Regions from separate parts of the Homo sapiens genome. Here region 1 is linked to region 2. Evidence: promoter capture Hi-C in human tissues and cell types (Jung and others, 2019). All regions are on one chromosome and are shown on one strand. Each heading gives the region's core, a stretch centred on a gene start or on the middle of the fragment in contact. The rest is flanking DNA. Distances are from core to core; before and after follow the strand shown.

Region 1 (5,904 bases), core at 779-3,278, 160 kb after region 2:
CAAAACAGCCCCAGGAGATAGGCGTTCATGCTTCCCATTTCTACACGAGGAAACTGAGGCCAGTAAACATTCCCGTGGCCACATAGTTAGCAAGACGAAGAGCTGGGATTCAAACTGCCAAAGTCCGTGCTCCTAACCCACCTCTGCTGCTTCCTGTTCTTAGCCTCACTGCTTCTACCCCAAATTGACATCCATCTTTTCCCATTGCCCTTAGCCACCTAAGAATTAGAGGCCCAGAGGCTGGGCATGGTGGCTCACGCCTGTAATCCCAGCACTTTGGGAGGCCGAGGCAGGCAGATCAACTTGAGGTCAGGAGTTTGAGACCGGCCTGGCCAACATGGTGAAACCCTGTATCTACTAAAAAAAAATACAAAAATTAGCTGGGCTTGGTGGCATGCACCTGTAGTCCCAGCTACCTGGGAGGCTGAGGCAGGAGAATCGCTTGAACTTGGGAGGAAGAGGTTCTAGTGAGCTGAGGTCGCACCACTGCACTCCAGCCTGAGCAACAGACTGAGACTCCATCTCAAGAAAAAAAAAAAAAAAAAGAACTAGAGGCCCAGAGCCACTCGGCTTTGGGAATGCTCAGAAGCCCTCAACTTGCAACCTACTAACTCGTTTCTCCCTTTGTGGAATCCAGTGTTTCTTCTCTTCACCCTAGCCTGGGTCCCTTCGGGACTATAGTTGACTGAGCTCAGAGACCTTTTGGTTTTATCAAACTTATCTTTCCCTCCTGTTCACCCATTGCAGTTAACACTTAATTTCCACCAAGCTGCATCCACAAGCCCAGTGAATTTCCATCTCCAAGCACAGATGTCAAGAGGGCCTCCAGCTCCTGGTGCTTGCTAGTCATCATGTCGTCTGAGACGCAGCCACAGGGAGAGACTGATATCCTAGTGCCAGGGATGCCGGCTTCCAGGTCTGCATCTGCCACCTCCATGAGGCATCGGCCCCAGCAGTCACGTCTTTCTGTGACATTTATCACAGAAGCAATGAAGCCTCATGTCATTCCGTGTTTAACACCAGTCTCCCCCCGTAGAAGGGAGGCCCCATGGGGGCAGGGACCATGGCTGATTTGCTAAGAGCTCTCTCTTCAGTGCACATGGAAGCAAACACTAAATATTTGTTAAATGGTGGGTCTCCCCTCTGGGCCTCAGTTTCCTCGTATATAAAATGAGGAGGATGGGCCGAGTAACCTCAGCCCCTCTCCGGCCCTAACTTGGCGTGATTCCAGGATCGAGAAGAAGCAACAGGCCCCTGCCTGGGCCTATTATTGTCATCAGCGTCCAGCCCTGCTGGAAGCAGAGGGAGGGGTATCAATAAATAATGAACACATTTAAAATTCATTATGAGATTATTTTCTGAGAACAGGGAAAGAGCAGGGGCACAGAATGGGAAGGAAGCAGAAGAGATGAGCCCAGAAAGGGGAAGCCTGGGACATGAAGTGATATTAACAATGAACACGTGCACAGCCCTTTACAGTTTACCCCCAGACACTTCCTCCCCCATCATTTCCTCCATTATCCTCCCAGTGGCCTGTGAGATCTGTATCTGTAGAGCAGGTACAATTATGGTCCCATCCTATAGCAGAGAAAATTGGGGCTCCCTTGACTGACAACACATCAACTGGCAAGTGGCAGAGGCGGGATTGGAATCAAAGGCTCTGACTGTAAGCCAGCACTCAGGCAGCGGGCCCGCCACATGATGCTCACTGAGGAACACCCCTGCCCAGTGTAGAAGAAGATCACGAGGTCAGAGAGCCTGGGAGGGTGAGCTGTGGATGTTCCCCCAGGACAGCGTGTTCTCCCCACAGCTGCTGAGTTGGCAGAACCAAACTTGCCACCCACCCGTCTCATTTACAGTAAATCCAGTGGGTTGCAGAAATAGGACCTGAAACTGCCTGAGGGCAGCAGGGTGGGGGGACAGTGAGGGGACGGGAAAGGGGCCAGCCTGCTGGTCCATGGGAGGGGACCGTCAGGGGAAAGCCCTTCCCGCCTCTGGGGAAGGGAACTTCCGCTTCGGACCGAGGGCAGTAGGCTCTCGGCTCCTGGTCCCACTGCTGCTCAGCCCAGTGGCCTCACAGGACACCAGCTTCCCAGGTGAGGACGGGGCTTGGCGCCTGGGGGAGGCTGGCAGGGCCAATATGGCAGAAAGTGGTGATTCCGTAAGTGTGAGCTTTGCGTCACCTGCCTCGGAGCCAGTTAGGCTGTTTAACAGTGCAGGTAGCTGGGCCCAATCCCAGACCTATGGGACCCAGATCTCTGGGGTGAGTTGGGGAGTCTGCTGCTACCCAGGGCCTAGCGGATGGGCAGGCCACCTAAAGCGGGAGCCTGGCACATAGGAGCTTTGGCATCGCAGAGACTTGAGCTGAGTCTGGCTCTGCACCTTATGTATTGGTTATCTTGGGCAAGTCACCTAACCTCTCTCAGCCCGGCCCCCCTACAGAGAACAGAATCTTTCAGCACTGCTGTGCCTTACAGGAGATCAAGCTTGCAAAAGCTTAGTGCATGCCCTGGCTCAAAATTTATCAGTAAACCAGAGGCAGGAGTGGGATTATAAGCCAGTCGCTCCTGCCCGGCCCAGCATTTCCCCAACACCTTGCTTATTTCCTCATACTCGCTGAGAAAGCTCAGCTTGACTCTTCCAAAGAAATAAGGGGATGTGCAGGTAGAGTTACGATGAGTTCTCAGCTAGTACTGAGTGAGCGCAATGTTTGTGCAGCTGGGGAGTGGGATGTGGCACTGCACGGGGCAGGGGGGACCTTATTTCTTCTAAGCGCCTTCTCCTGTCATCCTTCTGGCAGCCCTGTCAGGTTGAAATCAGCATTGCCAAGAGGCTCAGAGAGGTTAAGGCACTTGCCTGAGGTTATGCAGCCGGTAGCAGATGGGGCTTTAAAGTCAAGTGGGCCTGACTCCATGTTGCGGAAAGGGACTGCTGGACCGAAGGAGATGGAAAGGTCAGAGCCTGGGGGGAGGACAGGAGAAACCGCGCTGGCAATGATGATGGGCTGGCACAGGCAGGAGGCAGTTAAACCAGATGAGTTGTAAGCCCTAACCCAAGGCTGAAACTCGGTGGCTTTTGAAATGGGCTAGAACCAGCACTTTCCCACTCCCCCTGCCCCTGGCTTCCCCAGGAAGCCCAAGTCCTGTCAGTACCCTGCTCCCCACCCTCTCTCCCCACCAACTGGTCACAGCTCTCCACCCCTTGCTGCCTCCAACTGACAGAGCCCCTCCCTCTAAACACAGTCTTTCAAAGGGATTGTCTTTTTTTACTTCTCCAACCATCTTCCCTTCTGTTCAACCACTCAGGAATTCTTGGATGACAGTGATAATAATAAAATAGCTAATATTCATTAAGAATTTCCAACATGCCAGGCTCTGTTGGAAGCTGTAACTCATGTCCTCGCACATACCCTATGAGGGAGAGAGTAGCATTATCCCCACTTTATAGGAGGGTAAACTGTGGCCAGAGAGAAGGAGTGATTTCCCAAGTCCCTTAGCTAAGAAGCAGTAGAGACCTTATGTGAACGCTGAGTGTTGCTTTCCTTGTGACACTACAGGCTCCCGCCACCAGGTGAATGTGTGCTGCCTAACAAGAGCAGCAATCATCGTGGTGGTAAAAAGCCACTTTCACCGAACACTGACCATGTGCCTACCACTACCCTTGGTGTGTCCCATGCATTAGTCCTTTTATCAGGCTGTCTGGCTTCAAAGTTTATGTTTTTACCACCAGGTACAGTGGCCTCTTAACATAACATTGAGTTTTAAGATCCAGTGGATGTGGGTTTGACTCCCAGCCACACAGGAGCTGTGTGACTTTTATCAAGGTGCTTGCCCTCTCTGATCCCGTTGCCTCATCTGTAAAATAAGAAAGCAAGAGTGCATTCTCAGGGGCTGAATATCAAATTACAGGGGATAATGGCATGCAAGCCATCTGGCTCAGAGCCTGGCCTATACGTACCCAACTTATTAAAGTTGTTAAATTGCCATTTTGTAAAACCTTTAGCAAGAGCAAGAGTGAGAGCTGATGCTTATTCATGGATAAGCAGGACCATGCCCCTGAGCCACCCTGTCTTCAGAGCATAGAGCCTGACAGAACCTAAAGCTGTCACCAGCATTCCCTGGCCACACTCATCTTTACAGCTTCCTTTCCTTGGTGCACAGTGTCTGGCATAACTCAGGGCTTTCAGCAAGAAATTGATCAGGACTAGGCTGAGGGGCTGAGGCTGGTTTGCAGAGCATAGGAGCCAAATATCAGTAGGCCTTGTCTGGTCCCAGGGAGCCCTCCACATGCCAGACTCTGGGGTTGGGACAGCCAGCATGTGGCAGAGAGGGTAGGAGTTTGGCCACAACCCTGCTGTTAGAATAGTTTGCTGGGTGATTTTTGGGTAGGTTGCTTTCTAAGTTCCGATCCTCAGTTTCCTCATCTGCAAGATGGGAAATTAATCACAACCCACTTCCCCAGGGTGTTGAGAGGATCAGAGAACAGCAGCAATAGCAGTAGCAGCCACAAGTCCCAATGAGAGCTTGGGGCTCAAGGCTTTATGACTCTTTCCCATCCATGGTCTCACCTGGGTCCCTGTGGCCACTCTGGGAAGTAGGCAGAGACCACTCTGCTCCCCCATTTTAAGAGAGGATACAGTTCAGCCTCTGAGGAAAGGTTTCCTGGAGGAAGAAGGCTTTGACCCAAGCTTCGAATGAAGAAAAAACATTTGGATCTGGGCAAAGGTGGAATGGGCTGCCTCGAGAGGTAATGAGCTGCCCATCACTGAAACGGTGCAAACTATGGATGGAAGAGCCCTTGGCAGAGATGTCATTTCCTCACACTCTGCTGAGAAAGTTCAGCTTGACTCTTCCAAGGAAATAATGTGATGTGCAGCTAGCGTTGTGATTAGTTCTTAGGGCTGAGTGAACACAACGTTTGTGCAGCAGGGGAGTGCGTTGAGGCACCACACGGGGGACCTTGGCAGAGGTGTCATTGAGGAAACTTAAGAATAGGCTGAAGGGTCCTCAGGAACTTAAACATGGAATTGCCATAAGCGGTAATTCCTCTCCTGGGTATAAACCCCAAAGAATTAAAAACAGATACTCAAATCCTTGTTCACAAATGTTCATAGCAGCACTCTTCACAATAGCCAAAAGGTGGAAACTTCCCAAATGTCCACCAATGATGAGTGGATAAACAAATAGCCAAGCGAGATGGTGCGTGCCTGTAATCCCAGCTACTCAGGAGGCTGAGGCAGGAGGATGGCTTGAGCTCCAGAGTTCGAGACCAGCCTGGGCAACAGAGTGAGACCCCATCTCAAAAAAAACCAAAAACCCCAAAACCAAATTGTAGTGTGTAAGTGGAAGGTCTGTAAGTGGAAAGACACAAACGGTATTTTCCTCTGCTCTCACACCACAACAATCAACACAGAAGACTTCTGTGACCAAATGTGGGGGGTTTCTCCCCACACACCAAGCAAGCAATCAAATCTGCTGGGTGTCTTTCCACTCAGTTCTGACACTGTCTAGGAATAGCATCAGACCCCACAGGCTGAGAGCTCAGTCCCACAAGACTGCTCCCCCTCAGACACCATTTGCAAGTCCAGGCCCCCAGAACTTCTGACCAATCAGCTTCAAGTTGGGGTTCTCACAACCCCCTGCTTGGGTTTGGATTCTTTGCTAGAGTGGCCCACAGAAGTCGGGGAAACACGTTTACAAGTTTATTATAAACAATACTATAAAGGATACAGATGAGATGCTCAGGGTGAGGTATGAGGGAAGAGGCGTGCCACTGTCATGCCCAGGTCCCTGGGCATGCTGCCCCCGAGGAACCTCCTCGTGTTCAGCTATTTGGAAGCTCTCTAAACCTAGTTCTTTGGGATTTTTATGGAGGCTTTATTATGTAGGCACGATTGATTAAGCC
Region 2 (6,025 bases), core at 3,342-5,841:
TAAAGGGCAGTCTTGCAAAAGTACTTAGGCAGGATACTTTCAAAATGACATTACATCTTGATCACCAGGAGAATCCTAGCTTCTAACCAGTTTTGATCCAGAATACTTAACTGATCATACCATTTACTCCTGATTAATCACAGATAAGATTAAGAAGGTAGCCATGTATAACCTCAAACCTGAGACTTAAACCATTAAAATTAAAACAAAACAACAGATACTCAAAACATGAACAAAAAGGACTTTATATAAACTTATAAATTATTGGTAAAATGCATCTAATATTTAGGAATAACAGTGGCCATTTTCAGACATAAAAACAGTAATAGTAAACATTCAACGAACACTTCCTGTATTAAGCTTGGCATATGTGTTACCGCATTTAATTTTCACAAAAATCATCAGTGTGAGTATTATTGTTAAGTCCTGTTTTATGCATGAGAAAACTGTCTCAAAGAGGTGGTGTAATTTGGCGAAGGTCACAGAGCTCATATGACCCTGAGCCAGAATTGAAACCTCAGCATTCTAACTTTAGAGCTGCTCCCTTACACACTGAGTTTATACTGCCTCCCAACAGGGTAAAAGTGATGCATATATATATAAGTGCTTAGGAATCGCCTGACAGGAAACTGCCAAATGGCTATCATGCTTTCTTAGCTGACCTCTTTTTTTAAGTAACTCAGTTGAGACGCATTTCCACCTGTGTGATCTCTCAATACTTGATTCTTCACACCTGACCCTGCAGGATTCGACTCCACAACCAATTTAGAATTCCATTTATTTCCCTTTTCTCCCAGCCCTGCTTCCCCTTTCTGAGAGGCTGCTGGCAGAGTGAGAGGGCGCTGCCCCGGCAGGCTTGCTCCTCTGATTGGTAGGGGGTAGTGTGGGCCGATCCTCCCATGTTGCTATAGGCAATTTTGTATTAGTCCAAGTAATACATGCCTTCTAATAATTAAATGTTTTCCTGATTCATAGCAACTTTTTTAAAAAACAAATTCAAGGTCTAGTATTTATTTTAGCTGTGTTAACTGACAGTCGACTATACATTGTTTTCTTGGGAGACAAGCTATTTACAAGGCTAGGCTAACCCTGATGACTCTCTTTGGGAGGTTTCAAGTCATAAATCCTTGGTACTCTTTGTACTGATTATGCTGAAGGACATTATGGTTTTATATTTTTGCACTTGCGTGTTCTCTTAACTGTTCAATCCATCATTTTTGTCATTAGTTTGTTACCTTGATAGCTTCTAAACACACCTCTTCATTTTCTCTTAAAGCTTCCTCTCCACTTAACTTTGGCTACAGAGGAGTAACGTTATTCCTTAGATCAGCAATACTCAAGTTATTAGTGTCACCTTTATACTTAGTTGAACTGTGTCTTATGCATTTTTTTTAACATTGGTACCTAAAAGTATGTGGCATGTAACAGGTGATGAAGAAATGTCTGTTATACATGCATTCGTTCAACATTTCTTTTTTTCCATTTCTTGTTCTAATCTTTTGATGGCAATATCATTAATATACTTCAAAAGAACACTGATTTGCTGTTGGTGATCATTATAGGCTTATGTTATTTCTTCCTCAGTTTTAGAGGTCAGAGTAGGAGCTCTGCAAATCACTTGGTGGCTGTTTTTAAAGCCAATTCTGTTACAGTCCATAACCTTTGAACTTCAGAAAGAAAAAGGGAACAGATACTTTAAGAATATAAGATTAAATAGAGAGTTAGGGAGATGCTGCTTTGTACTTCGGCCTCTACTTCTCTCTCTCTCTGTCTCTCTCTCATACTTTGTTTCAGACAGCCTTGTTGAGCTATGACTGACATGCAGTAACCTGTAGCTAGGTATGGTGTACAGTGTGATTAGTTTTGGTATATGCCCTGAAACCATCACCACAGTTAAGATGGTAAACATCTCCATCACCCCCAAAAGTTTCTTCTTGTCCCTGTGTACTACCCCTCTCTCCTGCCCCTTCCACTTACCCATGCCCTGGGTAACCACTGGTCTGCTTTCGGTCACTGTACGTAAGTTTGTATTTTCTAGAGTATTGTATAAATGGAGTCATATGGTGTGTATTTTTTGTCTGGCTTTCATTGAGCGTAAGTATCTTGAGATTCACCCATGTTTTTTTTTTTTTTTCCTTTTTTCTTTTTCTGTGAATTCTACAGAGGTACGCCCCTAGTGTTGTGTGTTCATTCCTTCTTATTGCTGAGTTGTATGCATTGTGTGGATATACAATTCATTTATCCACCTCTACTATTTACTAGCATTGTGACTTTAGGCAGCTTCATCTTTATAAGCCTCAGTGTCCTCGTTTGTAAAAAGGGGATACTATCACCTACATCATGGGGTCATTGTGAATTAAGATTATTTATATAAAACTCATAGTAAAATGCCAGGCACTCAGTAGGAGGTCAGTAGGTAACAACTGCTATTGTTTGTTTTTACATTAACTCAGTATTTTTAGACCTAACAGACCTTGAAACCCCCTTTTCACTGAATGTCTTATAATATCCTGGTGCCATGGCCATTTACTCTGACACGAGATGGTTTGCTGTTACTTTAAGCTTAATTTGTAAGGCATGCTTTCAGATAGGTACCACCATCCACTTGGAAGTAGCTTCCTAAACTGCAAGGGCAGTGTCTAGTCTGAAGCAATCACTTTCTAGAACAGTGTCTAGAGGAAGTAGCTTCCTGTACTGCAGGGGTAGTGTCTAGTACGTAGCAATCAGTCTCTAGCAATGTATAGAAAAATCATCTGAGGTGCTTGTTAAAATGTATACCTCCAGAACTCATTTCCATGGTGTCTGATTCTTAGGCTGTGTTAGAACTTGAGAATCTACATATTTAACAGGCTCCCCCATGGGTTGCTGTTTTGGAACCTGTAGACTACATTTTGAGAAGCATAGTTGGAGAAGTGAATGGCTTACAAAACTCTTAGTGTGTGATGGCAGATGTCATAATGTCTGTGCTGGCACCTTTCAGTGGCATGAGAGGCCACCGAATACCCATTTTCCTCATTTGCTTACCCTTTGATTTAGCAGATGTTTACTGAGCAACTGATATGTGCCAGACTGAGCCGCTTGCTAGGCAGAGAAACTTCAATAAGACTTGATCCCTGTCCTTAAAGAGTATCTTGACAGCAGAGAAATCCTGCCACGTGTGTGATTATTTTGGGGGAAGTATGCAGAGGAGTCGCCAAATTACAGATTTCACCATAAGGCTTCAGCAATGAGCGCATTTAAGAGCTGTTCACTTAGAACAACGTTGTTTCACATTTCCGTACAATTTTACAGTTTGGGGTATTTTGTTTTTCTGTTTATACATTTTTAGCTCCCCAAGAGCTTTGAGTGGTATCCTGTGATTGGTTGTTGTTTAGTTAATCTTAACTTGAGAACAGCTTAACGTTAAAAATAGTCTACTCCTGGATGTGTCATTCCGTTTCTGAAACACAGCTGTGAGGTGTGCACCTGGGCAGGATTGAGTTTAGGGAGGACACCATGAACTAGTGTCCTGATTATTTTATTTCCTGAGATCAGTGATGAAAGGTGGCAAAGCCATTCCCTGAACAGCGATTGCAGCAACATGAGAAGAAGCTGGGCTACTTGAATTGTGAGAAATCAAAGCCAAAACTTATTAAAGAGAAATCTCTTGGGTGCTGGGATGGGAACATGTCTTCTGCCTGTCTTTATATCAGTGTAATATCCCTTACGCATTAGAAAAGCAAGTAGTGACCTAAGAGGTCACTTCTGACCTCTGGCTAAGCTGAGTAAAACTGTTATTTAGAGCCAGACTCATACTTTTTTTCAGTTTTTGTGCTAGGTTTTTTTTGTTTTGTTTTGTTTTGTTTTGTTTTTTTGAGACGGAATCTTGCTCTGTTGCCCAGGCTGGAGTGCAGTGGTGCAATCTCAGTTCACTGCAACCTCCACCTCCTGGGTTCAAGCAGTTCTCCTGCCTAAGCCTCCTGAGTAGCTGGGACTACAGGCACGCACACCCATGCCTGGCTAATTTTTGTATTTTTAGTAGAGACGGGGTTTCACCATATTGTTCAGGCTGGTCTCGAACTCCTGACCTCAGGTGATCCATCCACCCGCCTTGGCCTCCCAAAGTGCTGGGATTACAGGCATGAGCCACCGCACCCAGCCTTTTTTACGTTTTAGGAATCATTTAACTCTTCTGGACATTAGCACTAACAAGTTTCAACACTGCCACTTACTTGCTCTGTGGCTTTAGGCAAGTTGTTTTGCCTCTTTGTGCCAGTTTTCATGTGGGTAAAAACAAACAAATAAAGGCAAGGTAGGGGTTGGACAGGACGCTGGCACTGGCATTTTCCAGTTCTCTCATCTGTATTTTCTGACATGTGTCTGCCTCCTGACGTGCAGGCAGCAGAGATGCTATAGATCGAGAACAGCATGGAGCTAACAAGACCTGCATACAATGAGACACAGTGGATGATTTTGTGAGTGGCTGGGATACTTTCTGGAGGTTGAAAATTGTTTTTATTTAGCTGGCATCACGTGTCCATTAACAGCACTCAGCATCCCCAGGGATTGAGCGTGGCTTGCAACTCAGTGACAGACAAGCCCCACTGGGACTGTGAGGCTCAGGGAATTTCACTGGGGATTCAGACACCACCCATGGTCCCTGCAGACCAGGTAGTGCTCAGAAGCATGGAGGCATCAGAGATCCCGTTCTCATCCAGGACACTACGTTGCCTGGGAGGCACCACATTGATATAAAACAACTAAGTTAGGGTAGGCATGGGAATATCAGAGACAGTTGTAGGGGGACGCTGTAAACCCATTCACGTACCGCAAGGAACACCAGACCAGCTGAATTGTGGGGCCCTTTCCAGCGCTGGGCTTCTGGGATTCCTTTGAGCGCCTTCTGTGTGCAATCTACTGGTCCAAACTGGCTTATGCAAAAAGTTAACTTGTTGGCTCCTGTGACTTCATAGTGTAGAAGGAGAGATAGCTCTGGCCATGACTGGCTGCAGGTATGGCAACACCATCATCAGGACCTGGGTTCTTTCTCCCTGTCTCTCAGCAATGCTTCCTCTCTGTGGCTTCCACTTTCAGAAAGGCTTGCCCTCATGGTGACAGAAATGGCAGCAGCTGCTCTAACTTCAGGTGCAATCCAACAGAAAGTGGCCAAAGCCATGGTAGGTGGCACACAGTCACAAGGTAAAGTCCCACGATAGGCCGTCTGTACCTTGAGGAGCAAGGAAGCCAGTGGTGGATCAGTCCAAGTCCCAAAACCTCAAAAGTAGGGAAACCGGCAGTGCAGCCTTCAGTCTTTTGCCAAAGGCCGGAGAGCCCTTGGCAAACCACCGGTGTAAGTCCAAGAATGCAAATGCTGAAGAACTTGGAGCCTGATGTTCGAGGGCAGGAAGCATCCAGCATGGGAGAAAGATGAAGGCTGAAATTGTCTTCCTTCTTTATTCCTAGCCATGTCTCTGCTTTTAATTAATTGTGTATACAGCAAAGTGGATCTTTAACTAGAATAAGGAGATAATTTTTCTACTATTGATTTCTGTGCTTTTTGGTCCACTCTTCACCTAAAAATCTAGAAGACTCCCAAAGCTGAAGACCTAGTAGCATTTTTTTCTCCTTCAACTTTATTTCAAAGGCAAACACATCTCTTCTCCTATGTGAATCTGATGTTTTCAGCCGTGTCGCTGCTTTGGAGGTTTGTCAAATGCAGATCTGTGTTTGGAGGGCTCTGTTCACTGACAGGGTTGGGTAGCCCTCTTGAGAGTGAGTTAATGAGATTCGTTTTACAGGTCTATGAAAGGTGAAAATAAGTTGTTTTTCCAAATCTCCTTTCTGTTAATGATTAAGCCTAAGATATGCAGCCATAGATAGAAGGGCTAATGGTTTTATGGCAAGGGAATTTTATTCAATTAAACATTTATTGAGCACCTACTATGTACCAGTCTTTATATTCATTGAGACCAAGAAAAGTGATACAGATTGTCTACATACTACCCAGTATTCAAACCGGTATTGATTCTGGTAAGTCTAATAGAAC

The links. Contacts are between HindIII fragments. The study calls those that stand out against the background at their distance.
Region 1: the fragment with the promoter of C1QB here is called in contact with a fragment that was not itself captured in region 2 in 3 of the 25 tissues and cell types used here (IMR-90 fibroblasts, mesendoderm cells and pancreas).

Annotation. Positions count from the first base shown.
Region 1 is chr1:22,651,208-22,657,111 of GRCh38, forward strand. It overlaps C1QB (complement C1q B chain), which reads left to right and starts at 2,029. Exons shown (of 3, transcript NM_001378156.1): 1 at 2,029-2,096. The HindIII fragment of the contact is 7,433 bases long and covers 1-3,591 here.
Region 2 is chr1:22,491,676-22,497,700 of GRCh38, forward strand. All of the region lies in intron 3 of ZBTB40 (zinc finger and BTB domain containing 40), which reads left to right. Among named protein-coding and RNA genes, the nearest start is that of ZBTB40, 43 kb to the left of the region's middle. The HindIII fragment of the contact is 5,344 bases long and covers 1,920-6,025 here.